Regions from separate parts of the Homo sapiens genome. Here region 2 is linked to region 1. Evidence: promoter capture Hi-C in human tissues and cell types (Jung and others, 2019). All regions are on one chromosome and are shown on one strand. Each heading gives the region's core, a stretch centred on a gene start or on the middle of the fragment in contact. The rest is flanking DNA. Distances are from core to core; before and after follow the strand shown.

Region 1 (7,480 bases), core at 1,675-4,174:
AACCAAACAAATATCAGGCTGAAGAAGATATTTTGAAACAGGAATTAAAAGAAATTAAAGAATGTGTAAGCAAAAACTCAGATGTATGTAAAAAAAACCCAATTCCCTCTAAGAAACAAAAAGAGGTGGAATCCTTTAAAAATTAATTGCCTGTTTTTCTGTCTGTGGCCAGTGAGCCTTATCTCTCCCTTTCCCAGGCATTGTGAAGACCTTGTCTCTGCAGCTGTGTAGCTGCAAGGTCACTAGGCAGATAAACTCAAGTCGTAAAACATATTTTTCCTTGAAAAGTAAGAAATGATGTAATGCATGTCTCAATTGAGTAACTGTCTTTGTTTCTTGCTTCTGTAATATGCTTCCCCCTGCACAGATCTCCCCCTGCCCCACGAAATGCTTAAAAGGTAACCTGACGCTTTGTTCGGGGCTCAGTTTTTTTGGATGTTAATGTGACTGGGCCAGTGCACCTTAATAATGATAATAAATCCTCCTCAACCCTTCAGTCTCTCTGATTCCTAAATTATCCCACTGCATTTAGAAGTATTGTAACATATATGATAAAAAGGTTAATATCCCTAATATACAAAAAGCTCCTACAAATATGAAAAAAATAATAAAAAGGAAGAAAAGATATGAACAGGTCATTCATAGAAAAGTACAAATGACTAAGAAAGTTAAGATTCTCAATACATCAGTGATCTGAGAAATGCAAATTAAAAAGAGAAACACTTTCACCTATCTGATGATTAAGACTTCAAAACCCTAATGAAAGCCAGTGTGGTCCTGGGAGGTAAAGTAAACTTGCACCTGTCAGTGTAGCATTCTGAGACAACAATTCAATGGTGTCCACTGACATTTCATGTAAACATATGCATTGTCTTGGCAATTCCACTTCAAGAAATCTACCCGGAAATCACTTACGCAAGTGCTCAAAGGTATGTGAGAAACTTGATAGGGGTTGGTTAAGTAAACAGTACCTACCCTGTGGAATGCTAAGCAACTGTTGAAAGAAGGGAGTGGACCTGTATGTCCCGACATGGAAAGATGTCCATGATATAGTGTGACTTACAAGGTCAACCTGTGGAACAATATGTAGCATGAGATACATATATATGTATATATACGTATATATGAGATATATATATAAGCTCTCTTGTGCATATATATGTAAATCTATATGATATATATGTGTATATATCTATATCTATATATACAATATATCTATATATACATATCTCTCATGCTACATATTGACATATAGTATATCAATATATAGCGTATATATTGTATATATATCTCCATACTATATATAGATATCTATATCTCCATCTATCTATCCATCTATCTGTCCATCTATCTGCCTATCTCTCTATCTCTCTCTCTCTCTATCTGCCTATCTATCTATCTATCTATCTATCATCTATCTATCGGGCTTGTATAGCATAAAGGTAATGAGCACAGGGTATGGCACCAAAATGCCTGGGTTTGAATCTTGGCCCTGCCGCATACTAGCAGGGTGACCTTGGGAGAATCACTTCAGTTCTGTGTATCTCAGTGTCCTAATAATGAGAATTAGTGAGTTAACGTATATCAAGCACTTAGAATAGGGGCTAGCTCATAGTAAATACTATAGCAGTGTTAGCTACATAATAATAGAATTCCGTGTACCCTCAAGTGTCAAGAGTGGTCACCTTGAAGAGTGGATAGAGGTGGAGGTATAATAGGGAGACCCTCACTTCCTGCTTCACCTTTCTGTATTTTTTTTAACTCTATGAGAACCTGCATTACTTTCAACGTTTAGGAACAGTGAAATGAAATTATTGGCTGGGCGCAGTGGCTCACGCCTGTCATCCCAGCGCTTTGGGAGGCCGAGGTGGGTAGATCACTTGAGGTCGGGAGTTCAAGACCAGCCTGGCCAACATGGTGAAAACCTGTCTCTACTAAAAATACAAAAACTTAGCCAGGCCTGGTGGCATGCGCCTGTAGTCCCAGCTACTCAGGAAGCTGAGGCTTGAACCTGGGAGGTGGAGGTTGCAGTGAGCTGAGATCATGCCACTGCACTCCAGCACTCCGGCAGCAGAGTGAGACTCCGTCTCAAAAAAAAAAAAAAAAAAAAGAGGGCCTCTCACTGCTGGAGATGTGTGTATTTTCTAAGAAAAATGGTCTAGAAGGTATTTTTGAAGGATTAACTTGGCGTCCACAATTGAAACTGCATCCCTAAGAGGGAGGCTCTCCATTTTAACTGACAAACTTAGGGTGAGTCCGGGTCTGAAACAAGTGGAACACACAGCATGGCTCTTTCGCTTCAGGACGTAGAGAATGGCATGTAAGAACTAACCCAGTGCTGCTGCCATTACTCACAGTCCCAGAGGGGAAAGCAGTCATGTCTTCTGTCTGCACTCTGCAGACCTAACCCATCAGTTCTCAAACTCCTGTACGTGTCCCACAGTATCTGGACATGTCCATCCCATGCGTCTTGGTTGCCCACTGCCACCCTTTCTGTTCCCTGCAAGTCTTCCCATTAGTCTTTCTTCCCAGTGCTTCTTGAGAACACTCCTGACCCCTGACACTCCCATGTGGACACACAGGTGGCTCAGACTTCCCCAGTCCTCCCTGGGCTATCATTTTTCTGTTTCCTCAAATGAATGAAATATGAGGAGTGGAAAGGACAAGAATCTTACCTGGAAGGCTTTGTTTGAGGCTCCTTAATAAAAGAGGGCAAGGCGAAGAGAAAGAAGACCAGGACAGCCAGAAGCAAGGACCACTGGACGCCTTGGCTCAGGTGCCTGCATCTCCACAGGCAGGACCTCATGGTGGTGGGTCGGGTTCTAGAGGAAGGTTCTGCATGTCCTGGGGCCTTGATGTAGGCAGCTGGGAGTCTCACCGCTCAGGTTTCCTGGCCAGGAAGTGCACACCCTTTGTCTTAACAATGAGCCACTCCGGCAAGTGCTGAGTTTATCAGTCTCTGCCTGGGAAGGGAGGAACCGCCTTCACTGCTGTATGAAGGCTTATAAGCTGGCGTGGCTTAAAGGAAGGGAAACTCCTTGTGTTCAAACATGTTTACCTTCCTTTTTTGTCTTTGAAGCCAATATCTGAAAGTCAAGCTTTATGAGAAATATAACCACATTATATGCAGTCTCATCTTGGTCAGGTTACTTAACCCATCTGCCGCCATATAAATGGAAAAAAGCAGTTATCTTCCTTTTGGGATTATCATGAAGACACCTTGAGGCCACCATGCACAGGGCTTTGTTTGTGGTAGGCACCCAACACACATGTTCAACACTTTAGCTCAACCTTCTCTGTTTCTCTTCTGAAATCATGACCATTACAACAATGACCAGCACGTATGAGGGCTCACTCTGAGCTGGGCAGTGGGGAGTCTTCACAGGCACTCATGGAACCCTCACAGCCACTCTAGGGGCTGGGTACTGTCATCACCTCCATTTGACAGAGGAGGAAATGGCCTCCAAGAACAAGCTGCCAGCCCAAGAGCACATGGTGAGCCACTGGCTTGGGGTCCAGATCCAACTGACCTAGAGATTGCATTCTTTTTTTAAGAAATAGAGATGGGTCTCAGTATGTTGCCCAGGCTGGTCTCAAACTCCTGGACTTAAGTGATCCTCCCACCTCAGCCTCCCAAAGTGCTGGGATTACAGGCATCGGCCACCATGCCCAGCCATGATTGCATTTTTCTTTCTTTTTTTTTTTTGAGACATTCTCACTCGTTGCCAGCCTGGAGTGCAGTGGCGCAATCTTGGCTCACTGCAACCTCCGCCTCCCGGGCTCAAGTGATTCTCCTGCCTCAGCCTCCTGAGTAGCTGGGACTACAGGCACCCAACACCACACCCGGCTAATTTTTGTATTTTTAGTGGAGACGGGGTTTCACCATGCTGGCCAGGATGGTCTCGATCTTCTGACCTCATGATCCACCTGCCTCGGCCTCCCAAAGTGCTAGGATTACAGGTGTGAGCCACCGTGCCTGGCCGATTGCATTCGTATCCACTGCTTAGTAGCACCTACGAGAAATCATTAACTCTACCTTGATCAAAGCAATGCAAAACAAAACCCACATAATTCTTGGGAAAAAAAAGTACACCTCAGAGGAAAAACATCAAGACCATTTGTAGAAAACTTTAAAAATTCAGAGAAGCAGCCCTCCATAAAGTACTGTGAGTTAGTAATTTTATAAAAATATTGTCCAGGGTGTTGAACTGTGGGAGAGGTTTTGGAGCCTGGGCTCACTGTTCACACCTGGCGGTGGGCATTTCTCCTAACGTACAGTTTTCAGTTCTGTACACAAGGCTCTTGGCCTTCACCCATGGCACGCACCGATAAATGATTAAACCACCTTCCTCAAGGAGGACGAAAAAGGCAGGAACATACGTCTGAGCAGCTGAGGGTAATACAGACGACTGATGGTTTCCTTTATCCCCTACTGTACACTGCAACTCACAGCACTGTTTCAAGTCATGGTGGCAAGGAGAAACATCTCTGTTAGTACTGACTCAACCTCTCTCTTTCTCTCTCACCGTGCCTAACCTACAGATGCTCATATGTTAACTCTATAAACATTTTCTGAATTGATCTGTATCAAGTCATAACTCTTTGTCCTAACTGGCCCCTTATCCTGAGTTCCTTTATGCACTTGACATGTACAATTATATTCCTGTATCCTGGTGCCTGCTTGCAACGCTATGCAAATAAGTGCACAGTGAAAAGGCATGTTCTTACCCACAGTACTAGTGTGACTAAATAGAGTATCTCTTTCATCGTGCCCTGTGTTCTGAAGAAGGCACTGGCTGTCAGTGCTCGCTGCCTTCCGCAGGGCATGGAGATCCAGCTGAGCTCCTGGGTGCAAGCTGAGCTACTGTGGACAATCTGTCCCTCTCGCCACATTAGAGGCAGGTTGAACTTGAAGACCTTGTGGCCAACTGGTGTGGCAGGATAATCCAGAGTCCTAGTTTCCTGGTTCTCAGGTTCCAGCCCACTGCTGCTGTAGCATGTGCCTGGGCAGAATGTGGGATCCAGAGAAGTGTGTGTTTTAGGAGAAATTGACTTTCCAATTATTTTGTTTTTGCTTTTTGAGACAAGGCCTCTTTCTGTCATCCAGGCTGGAGTGCAGTGGTGCAATCATAGTTCACTGAAGCCTTGAATTCCTGAGCTCACAAGATCCTCCTGCGGCAGCCTCCCTCCAAAGTAGCTGGGATTACAGGTGGGTGCCACCACACCTGGCAAATTTTTTTTGTAGAGATGGGGGGGTCTTGCTATGTCGTGCAGTCTGGTCTTGATCTCCTGGTCTCAAGCGACCCCACTTCAGCCTCCCAAAGTGCTGGGAGCACTTCATGTGAGCCGCCACGCCCAGCTGCCAATTATTTTTTAAACATCGTCACAATTTTGTGTTTGGTAAGATCTACCTTTCTCTCCTTTTTATTGTTTTATTTTATTTTATTCTCTTAAGCTCAATGGCAAAAACTTTTTCTCCTTTTTAAACTAAAGCTTTGAGCTTGAGTCTTTGAACTTTAGTATACATCAGCTGATGGGACATGTGAGAACTTACATGCAGATAAGAGTTGTTAAAAGATAATTTTCAGTAAAAGGTAAAATCATTACTCAAATAGATAGAAGACATAAAAATGTGCTAAAGATTTGATTCTACTCATGAGAGGACCAGGCAGATATAATAACCAGTTCAAAAGAGAAGTGCATGAGCACAAAGTAATTTAGATTGTTTTTCATTTGCTTCTTTCAAGATTTTTCTCTATCTTTGGCTTTCAGTATTTTGACTATGATGTGTCTGTGTGGGTCTTCCTGCATTTATTCACTTGGAGTTTCTGGGATCTATGTATTAGTGTTTTTCAACAAATTTCAGAAGTTTTCAGGTATTATTTGTTTGAATATTTTTTTCTCTCTATCTCTGCCTCTTGAGCATTCTTTCCTAGGATGAGTATGTTGGTGTGCTTAACAGTATTCTACATTTCTCTGAGGCTCTGTTCATTTTTACTTATTATTTTTCGTAGTGTTCTTCATCTGTATTAATCTGTCTTCATGTTGGCTGATTCTTCCTTCTGCCAACTCAAATCTACTATTGAGCCCCTCTAGTGAATTTTTCATTTTGATTATTTATTTTTCAACTTCAGAATTTTCATTTACTTAATAATTTTGTTCTATCTTTTTAGTGAACATTCTCTATTTCATGAGTCATTATTATCATGCCTTTCTTTAATCTTCAATTCTTTAAACATGGTTTACATTAAAAACTTTTTTTTTTGGAGACAAGGTCTTGCTCTGTCACTCAGGCTGAAGTGCAGTGGCGTGATGATAGGTCACTGTAACCTTGAACTCCTGGCCTCACGTGATCCTTTCTCCCCAACCTCCCTAGTAGTTAAGACTACAGGCTAATTTATTTAAATATATATATATTTTGTAGAAACAGGTTTTCACTGTGTTGCCCAGGCTGGTCTTGAACTCCTGGCCTTAAGCAATCCTCCTGCCTAGAACTCCTGAAGCATTGAGATTATAGGCGTGAACCACTATGCCTGGTCTACTTCGATTTTTAAAACATATTCATAATAGCTGCTTTGGAGTCTTTTTCCAATGTGTCCAATATTTAGGTCCCTTCAAAAGCACTTTTTATTGCCTGACTTCTTTTCCTGTGTATTTGTCACAGTTTTTTTGCGTGTCATAATTTTTTGTTGAAAACCAGACATTTTAGATAATATATTGTAGCACCTCTAGATGCTGAATTCCCCACTACACTGGGGCTTGTTGGTGGAACTGTTGTTTCCTTGGGCATTTGTTTATTTAATTCTGAACTAATTCTATGAAGCCTATTTCCTGGTTTGTGTGCAGAGTGTATAATTTCTGATGTTTCTGCTGAGTTTCTTTCTTTTCTCCTTTTTTTTTTTTTTTTTTTTTTTGAGACAGAGTCGTGCTCTTTCACCAGGCTGCAGTGCACTGGCGCGATCTCGGCTCACTGTAACCTCTGCCTCCCAGGTTCAAGCGATTCTCCTGCCTCAGCCTCCCGAGTGGCTGGAACTACAGGCGCGTGCCACCATGCCCAGCTAATTTTTGTATTTTCAGTAGAGACAGGGTTTCACCATGTTGGCCAGGATGATCTCAATCTCCTGACCTCGTGATCCACCCACCTCGGCCTCCCAAAGTGCTGGGATTACAGGTGTGAGCCACCGCGCCCAGTCTTCTGCTGAGTTTCTTAACCACTGTGTCTGGTACACAGTTTCCACCCTACAAGTGGGGTCTGGGTTGGGGAAGGGAGCCCCAGCCCTCTTGGCCACACCTGCATGGAATACAGTTTTTGCAACGCAGAGCTGGAAGAGATGAGAGACACCAGTGACACACCCTTCTTAGAGTGAAACTGCAGCCTGGAGTGGAGGCAGAGGGAGCCCCCCATCTTCTTGGGAAGCGACACCTGCTTGGGAAGAAGATAGGAGTGGGATGTGACTCAGGTGCCACAGACTGTTTATTC
Region 2 (7,480 bases), core at 3,032-5,531, 210 kb before region 1:
AAATGGTATCTTGGATATATACTGAGTTAAATAAAACATTAAAATTAATTTCTGGCTGAGTGAGGTGGCTCATGTCTGTAATTCCAGCACTTTGGGAAGCCAAGGTGGGAGGATTGCTTGAGGCCAGGAGTTCAAGACCAGCCTGGGCAACAGAGTAAGACCCTATCTCTACATAAAAAAATGGCAGCAGGATCCCTTAAGCCAGGTGTTTGAGGTTACAATGAGCTATGATCGAGCCACTGCACTCCAGCCCGGGCAACAGAGCAAGACTCCATCCACCTCTACCTCCAAAATTAATTTCACCTGTTTCTTTTTTTTTTTTTATTTTTTATTTTTTTTTTTTGAGACAGAGTCTCGCCCTCACCCTGTCACCCAGGCTGGAGTGCAGTGGCGCGATCTCAGCTCACTGCAAGCTCCGCCTCCCAGGTTCATGCCATTCTCCTGCCTCAGCCTCCCGAGTAGCTGGGACTACAGGCACCCGCCACCACGCCCAGCTAACTTTTTTGTATTTTTAGTAGAGACGGGATTTGACCATGTTAGCCAGGATGGTCTCGATCTCCTGACCTCGTGATCCACCCGTCTGGGCCTCCTGAAGTGCTGGGATTACAGGCGTGAGCCACCGCACCCGGTTCACCTGTTTCTTTTAATGTTTTTAAAATGTGGTCACTTCTCAAGGTCCTTTCGACAAAAAAAAAAAAAAAAAAAAAAAAAGTAAAAGAAAAAAATGTGGTCACTAAAAAATTTTAAAGGACCTACTTGGCTCATATTGTATTTTTTTAAATAATAGTTTAGCTTAATTGTATCAAAACAATGCATGCCTAAGTTAAAAAAAAAACATAGTACTAAAAGGCTTAACAAAAACAGGCAGTCCCCCATCTTACCCTCTCAACTGTGCTCTTTTGAAGCAAATACTTTTTAATTTTTTAGCTGTTTGAATATTTACCTCCATACATATAAACAACATGCTTGCACCCTAATTCCTAACTTATTATAGACATTATCTATTGACGTCCTGTTTTGGTACCTGATGACCTAACTCTTACCCTCCCCTCTGAAGCCCTTTGCCTGTACTCCATCCTTTCAACAGTTCCACTGCATTAATTGAAAAATCTAAATGTGTTATGATGGAGGACAGAGCTCACAGCTGAACCAAGTGGTGTTCCGTGTCCTCACACAACTATGTACATATTGATACTTTTGTCAAATACCTATCCATAACTTTTCTAAATATCTTCAAATTACCTACAAATTATCGATCAGGTATCTTTGGGCTTTGTGTCTTTTTCTTGTCGATCTCTCTCCCTCCTGCAGAATTCCATCCTGTCTCTCTAACTCAGACTTTCCTCTGCCGCTCACCTGTGTCAGATCCCGTTTCCTGGATCCTGGGAAAAGTCCCTGGTTTTGGTGAAGAACAACTCCTTCTATCTCCTCCCCACAAGAGGTTCACAGGAGGCACTTTTTTTCCAGCCCTTACATGCCTAAAAGGAGGGTCTCACTCTGTCACCTAGGCTGGAGTGTAGTGGTGTGATCATGGTTCACTGCAGCCTCAACCTCCTGGGCTCAAATGATCCTCTTACTTCAGCCTCCTGAGTAGCTGGGACTACAGATGCACAACACCACACTTGGCTAATTTTTGTATTTTTTTGTAGAGACAGGGTTTTGCCATGTTTCCCAGGCTGGTCTCGAACGGGGCTCAAGCGATCCTCCTGTCTTGGCTTCCCAAAGTGCTGGGATTACAGGCGTGAACCACCATGCCCAGCCAAAAGAACTTTTTTCTACTCTACTTGACGTAGTTGGGCTGGATACGGAATTCTCTCAGAATGTTGCAGGATTTGCTCTGCTGTCTTCCAGTCTGAGTACCTGTCTTAACTGGCACATATAATTGTTTACTTTCATTGTGATCCATGTGGATTTATTTCTACTACCTTTAGGGCTTTCTGGCTACCATATTTTTTCTTTGCTCTCTTTCTTTTAGACAAATGACCTAGTTTTAAAATTCCATATTTTTACCCTCTGTGAGTTTGAAAGCTTTAAACACTATTTCTATTCTTTTGGTGGTTACCCTTAAAATTGGAACATGTCTACTTGACTCAGAAAGTTTGAAGTCAATCAATATCCCTCCTACACTTCCCAAACAGTTCAAAGAACTTAAGAGTGTGTTCATTCAAATCACCCCCTCACTGATTTCCATTTTTTGTTGGGACTTTGGTTTTTAATCCTCTCCAAATTAGTGACGATCACTTTCAGAAGCGAATGCTTATTCAGATTTACCTGCACTTCCCAACGCCTCTGGATACCATTACTGTCCGCATTTCTCCTTTCTCCTTACTTCCTTCTTCCCGAAGTACAGCGAAGGTCTCTTAGTAAATACAACTTTTTTTTTTTTCTGTGAAAATGTCCTTATTTGTTCCCATTATTGAACGATAATTTAAGCTGGTTGCTGAAAACTAAGCCAACAACTGATTTTCCTTAGCACACTGAAGATTTTACTTCCTTATGGCCTCTACTGTTGCTACTTGGCATTTCCTGAGTTTCACTGTTGAACCTGGGGAGTAATCTGCCTTTCTTCTCAAGCTGCCTTTAGGATGCTATTTTTCCCACTGGGCCCTCATACCACCATCCATGTTTGTAATGTCTCTTCCTCACAAGCATCTCTTTTATCTCTGCAGAATTCTAACTAACTTCTGCAGATCTGTTTTCCAGTTCCCATAGTTCTCTCTTGAGAATTTATGCTATTTGCTGTTTAACATTTCCACTGGGGTTTTAACTCAATGTTTTCACTCTAGAGGCTTTATTTGATTCTTTAAAAAATAATCCCTTTTAAGATGTATTCTGTCTTATTCTTTCCTTTGACATCTATTTCTTCTTTTAGCCCTTCAATCACTTTAGACATTTCTATTATAATCTCTTCTATTATTTGAATTCTCATGTTGAGAATCTTGTGTTTGTTGTGATCGCTGACTCATGTTCTAATTTCTACATGCTTGGTAATTTCCTAGAACAAGCTCATCATCTGTGGGCATCCTAGGATTCCAAAAGGCCTGTACTGTGCAAGGGTCACTCTAGAAAAGTTCTGCCTTTGTTCTGCAAGCAAGAAGCTTCAGGGGTATCGCCAGTCTGCTGGCTGGTCTGGTGCCAGCTCGGGCATTCCTGCAACATGTAGATGTTATAAACACAGACTTAGAACTTGGATGTTTTCCACTGTTCACAGAAGACTTCCTCCAACACAATCCAGAGTGTGGGGCAATGATCAGCTCCCTTGACATTTCTCTGATCCCATGGGGGAAATTTTCTTGCATCCCTTTTACCTGGGAATGGCTCTTTTGAGGGGATTTCTGTTTCAACTCCATGCTTCACGTGTTCATGCAAATCCAAACCTCTATTATTGTTAGGGTCGATTTCAGGGTCCAATGAACCCACCTTGCCCCTCCCCAGAGCTGCCTACTCTGCTCTGGCTTTATATTCCTGCTTTGCTTTCGGTTCTCTGTTTTTCTTTCTTATTCTGTTGTTATAGCTTATATAGCATTTTAAGTGATTGTAATGGGAGCGGTTCTAACTTTAGCTCAAGCTACCATGTCACTGAAACAGGAAATCCACCCCATTGTCTTCTGGCTTCCAATGAGGTTGAAAAATCCAATCCATCTTCATTCCCAGTCTTTTGTATGTGACCCGTTTTTGCTCTTCGGAAGCTTTATGCCCAGTGCTCTGGAATCACACAATGTGCCACAGGACATTTTCCATTTACCATTTTTGAAACTTATGACTGTCCATTCTGAAATAATTCTTGTTTCTCTGATACATTATGGTCCTTAATTTTCCCTTTCTCTCTTTATAGACTTCCTAGATGTCAGACGTTTTTAATCTGTTTCCTGGGAGCCTTCGTCAACTTCAAAGAAAAAGTAATGGTTTTAATTTCCGAGAACTCTTTCTTGTTCTGATTTTTATAGTAACTTTTTATTTCATGGATAAAATATTGGCTCTTCTTTCTGAGTATATTTGCCATGTGCTTTAAGGCTTTCTCCTACCTGAATCAGCTCTGATTCCTCGGAGATACATTTTTCTCTTTGCTTTCTCTGGCCTCTACCTTCCATACTGGAAGCTTTCTGAACATATCCAGTTATTCTTGGCATCCATTCCTATTTAAAAGTGAGGCAATAAGAGATCTTTGTGGTGATGGAAGAGTTGTGTATCTTGACTGCTGTTACATGTGGTTACATGAATCCACAGATGTGATAAAGGGTGTGAAACTGTATGCACATATTGTGTACCCATGTCAATTCCCTGATTTTCATATTGTCTGTGATTATATAAGACATGACCATCAAGGGAAACTGCATGAAGGGTAGAGGGGACCCCTCTACTATTTTTTTTTTTTTTTTTGAGATGGAGTCTTGCTCTGTCGCCCAGGCTGGAGTGCAGTGGCATGATCTTGGTTCACTGCAACCTCTGCCTCCTGGGTTCAAGCAATTCTCCTGCCTCAGCCTCCCGAGTAGCTGGGATTACGGGCGCATGCCACCATGCCCGGCTAATTTTTGTATTTTTAGTAGAGACGGGGTTTAACCATGTTGGCCAGGCTGGTCTCGAACTCCTGACCTCGTGATCTGCCCGCCTCGGCCTCCCAAAGTGCTGGGATTACAGGCATGAGCCACCGCGTCCAGCCAGCCCTCTACTATGTTTGCAACTTCCTATGCATCTATAATTATTTCAAAATAAAAAGTTGGGCTGGGGATGGTGGCTCATGCCTGTGATCCCAGCACTTTGTGAGGCTGAGGTGGGCAGATCACTTGAGCTCAGGAGTTTGAAACCTGCCTAGGCAACATGGCAAAACCCCATCTTGACAAAAAACACACAAATTAGCCAGGAGTGGTGGCGCATGGCTGTAATCCCAGCTACTTGGGAGGCTGAGGTGGGAGAAGTGCTTCAGCCTGGGAGGCAGAGGTTGCAGTGAGCCAAGATTACACCACTGTACTCCAGCCTGGGTGACAGAGTGAGACTCTGTCTCAAAAAAAAAAAAAAAAAAAAAAAGTTAAAAAAGTTGAGGTGATAAAAAGATGATAGAAACCCTGTGAACATAAGCAAGGCTCTGGACAGGTGAGGACCACATTAGATGGAGTAGAAAGCTGGCCACTGCTGTGAGGAGCCACTACATACTGGCAATGGCAGGTCTTGTTGCTGACATGCTCATTTTTTCCAGACTGGAATCCAATGCCATGCCTCATGCCTGGCCTCAGCACTCCAGGAGCAGGCAGGGGCATGGCTGGGATTTGCTCTTTTAGTGTGCAGACGTTCATGAATCCCTCTTTCAGTCCAGCGTTACCCTGCCCCTTGCTCTGCCCAAGGTACCTCAATCTGGTGCATAAGCCTCTGCTCTCTCACTCGCCAGCAAAGGGGATTGAGTATTTTCTGGTTTGCAGAATTCAAAGAGATGACTTGGGAAGTTTCATCCCTCCCTATACAGACTGTCAACTAATCATAATCCCTCTGCTTTTAGGCCCAAACCTTATTCCCACCTTGAGTGCCACCAATTGCCTCCAATTCCTGATGCTTTCTAAAGTGCTTTTCCTTGGTGTTTTTCCGCAGGTACCAACATTTCAGCCTCTGCTCTGCTCAGTCTTCTGTTTGCCTTCCACCTTCTAGAAATTGGAGATCTTTTGTTATTGTTTTCTCTCCCATTCTGTGTCCTTGTGGGTTTATACATCTAAAAACAATTATTTTGCTGTTATTTTAGCAGAGTTTCTAGGGGAAGTAGATTTAAATGAATATGTTCAATCTACCATGTTTACCTAAAGTATGCTAACCGAAGATTTTTTTTTTCAATTTGAGAGCAGGTACTATTTATTAACTGACCAGATTAGAAAAATAATCACGGTAGACACCGCAGTTCATTCTTCTAAGAAGCCTGTGGATCTGGCCCTCCCTGTTGGCAGCAGCTCCATTTTCTACAAAATGGGTGGTCTTTTTCTTCATTCCACTTTGTGGAGAGGATAACTTGAAGGGCCACAGTATAGAGCTCATGAATCAGATCCTCGATGCAGATGATGCCATATTGACCATGAGACTGATCAATCAAAGTGTTATCTGTCAAAGCAATTCGCTTCTTATTGATTTTGCCACGGCCATGCTTGTAGATGAGTTTATTTACTGATTTCAGATTTGGGTTCCCCTTGTAATACATGGTTTCACAATCCTCAGCATGTTAACTGAAGGTCTGCTGAACTTCACAAAGGTTCCATTAAAGATCTGACAAAGGCAAAGAAGCTGCAACATCTTTTGGCCCTTTGGGCTCACACCACTGATACCTCTGACCCTGATGACAAATGCCAATTCGGGTTCTGCAGGCACAAAAAAGTTGCCAGCTTTTCTTGCCATCCTAGCCTTTCAAATTTCAGTTCTGTACATCTGCCTAGATTCCTTGTGGTAGTGCTTCACTTCTTCGTGCATAAGTTTCCTCCCTGCCTTTTGAAGCATCTTTTGGGCAAACTTCTTATTCAGGTGCTTGATCTTTAGTTCTGTGAAATTCCTTTGCTTTTTCCCAAGGGTTTCTGGCACAACAGGAAGCTGCTGCTTCTCTTCGACACCCTCCATGGTTCCAGCCAAAAAAGAGGCAACCGGAGGTTTTTAATCTTTGTTTTGCAAAGTACTTATATACAACTAGATCTGAAGATGAAGGAGAAGTAATAAGTCAACAAAAGCCGGCCACGGTGGCTCATGCCTGTAATCCCAGCACTTTGGGAGGCTGAGGTGGGTAGATCACTTGCAGTCAGGAGCTCAAGAGCAGCCTGGCCAACATGGTGAAATCCCGCCTCTACTAAAGATACAAAAAAAAATTAGCTGGGCGTGCTGGTGCACGCCTGTAATCCCAGCTACTTGGGAGGCTGAGGCAGGAGAATTGCTTGAATCCGGGAGGCACAGGTTGCAGTGAGCCGAGATCGCACTCCAGCCTGGGCGACAGGGTGCTCTGTCTCAAAAAAAAAGTCAACAAAACCCAGGAAATCACAAATTCAAAAATTAGCCATCCTTAGTTCAGACATTCACCTACTCACCAATTCATTTTGATGGACTCTCCTCATGTTGCTATTCTGAGATGTGAAATAGTGGGTAGGGAAAAGAAAGACTATTAGGGCCAGACACTGTGGCTCACACCTGTAATCCCAGGAGCTGGGAAGCCCAGCGGGGGGGACTGCTTGAAACCAGGAGTTTGGGACCAGCCTGGGCCAAGACTCCATCTCTATGAAAAAGTAAAATTAAGAATAAAAAATTTTAAAAAGAACAGCTCCATTAGAAACTCCCCCAGACACCTGAAAGGGCCACACATCCGCTCCTACAAATGGCTTTTTGTTTCAAATGTTAAAGAAAGTTTAAGTCCCATGGATTGCTGTGATCTAACCATGACAGTCAGAACTGATCCAGGCTTAGGGTGGAAGACACTCCCTGTCAGTGTCACGCAGCAGGCATGGATAAATCCACACTTTACACACTC

The links. Contacts are between HindIII fragments. The study calls those that stand out against the background at their distance.
Region 2: a contact is called between a fragment that was not itself captured here and the fragment with the promoter of ST6GALNAC1 in region 1, in 2 of the 25 tissues and cell types used here (dorsolateral prefrontal cortex and thymus).

Annotation. Positions count from the first base shown.
Region 1 is chr17:76,640,833-76,648,312 of GRCh38, forward strand. It overlaps ST6GALNAC1 (ST6 N-acetylgalactosaminide alpha-2,6-sialyltransferase 1), which reads right to left and starts at 2,925. Exons shown (of 9, transcript NM_018414.5): 1 at 2,676-2,925. The coding sequence starts at 2,806. The HindIII fragment of the contact is 5,915 bases long and covers 1-4,295 here.
Region 2 is chr17:76,424,540-76,432,019 of GRCh38, forward strand. All of the region lies in intron 1 of UBE2O (ubiquitin conjugating enzyme E2 O), which reads right to left. It also overlaps the pseudogene RPL7P49. Among named protein-coding and RNA genes, the nearest start is that of UBE2O, 25 kb to the right of the region's middle. The HindIII fragment of the contact is 3,437 bases long and covers 2,564-6,000 here.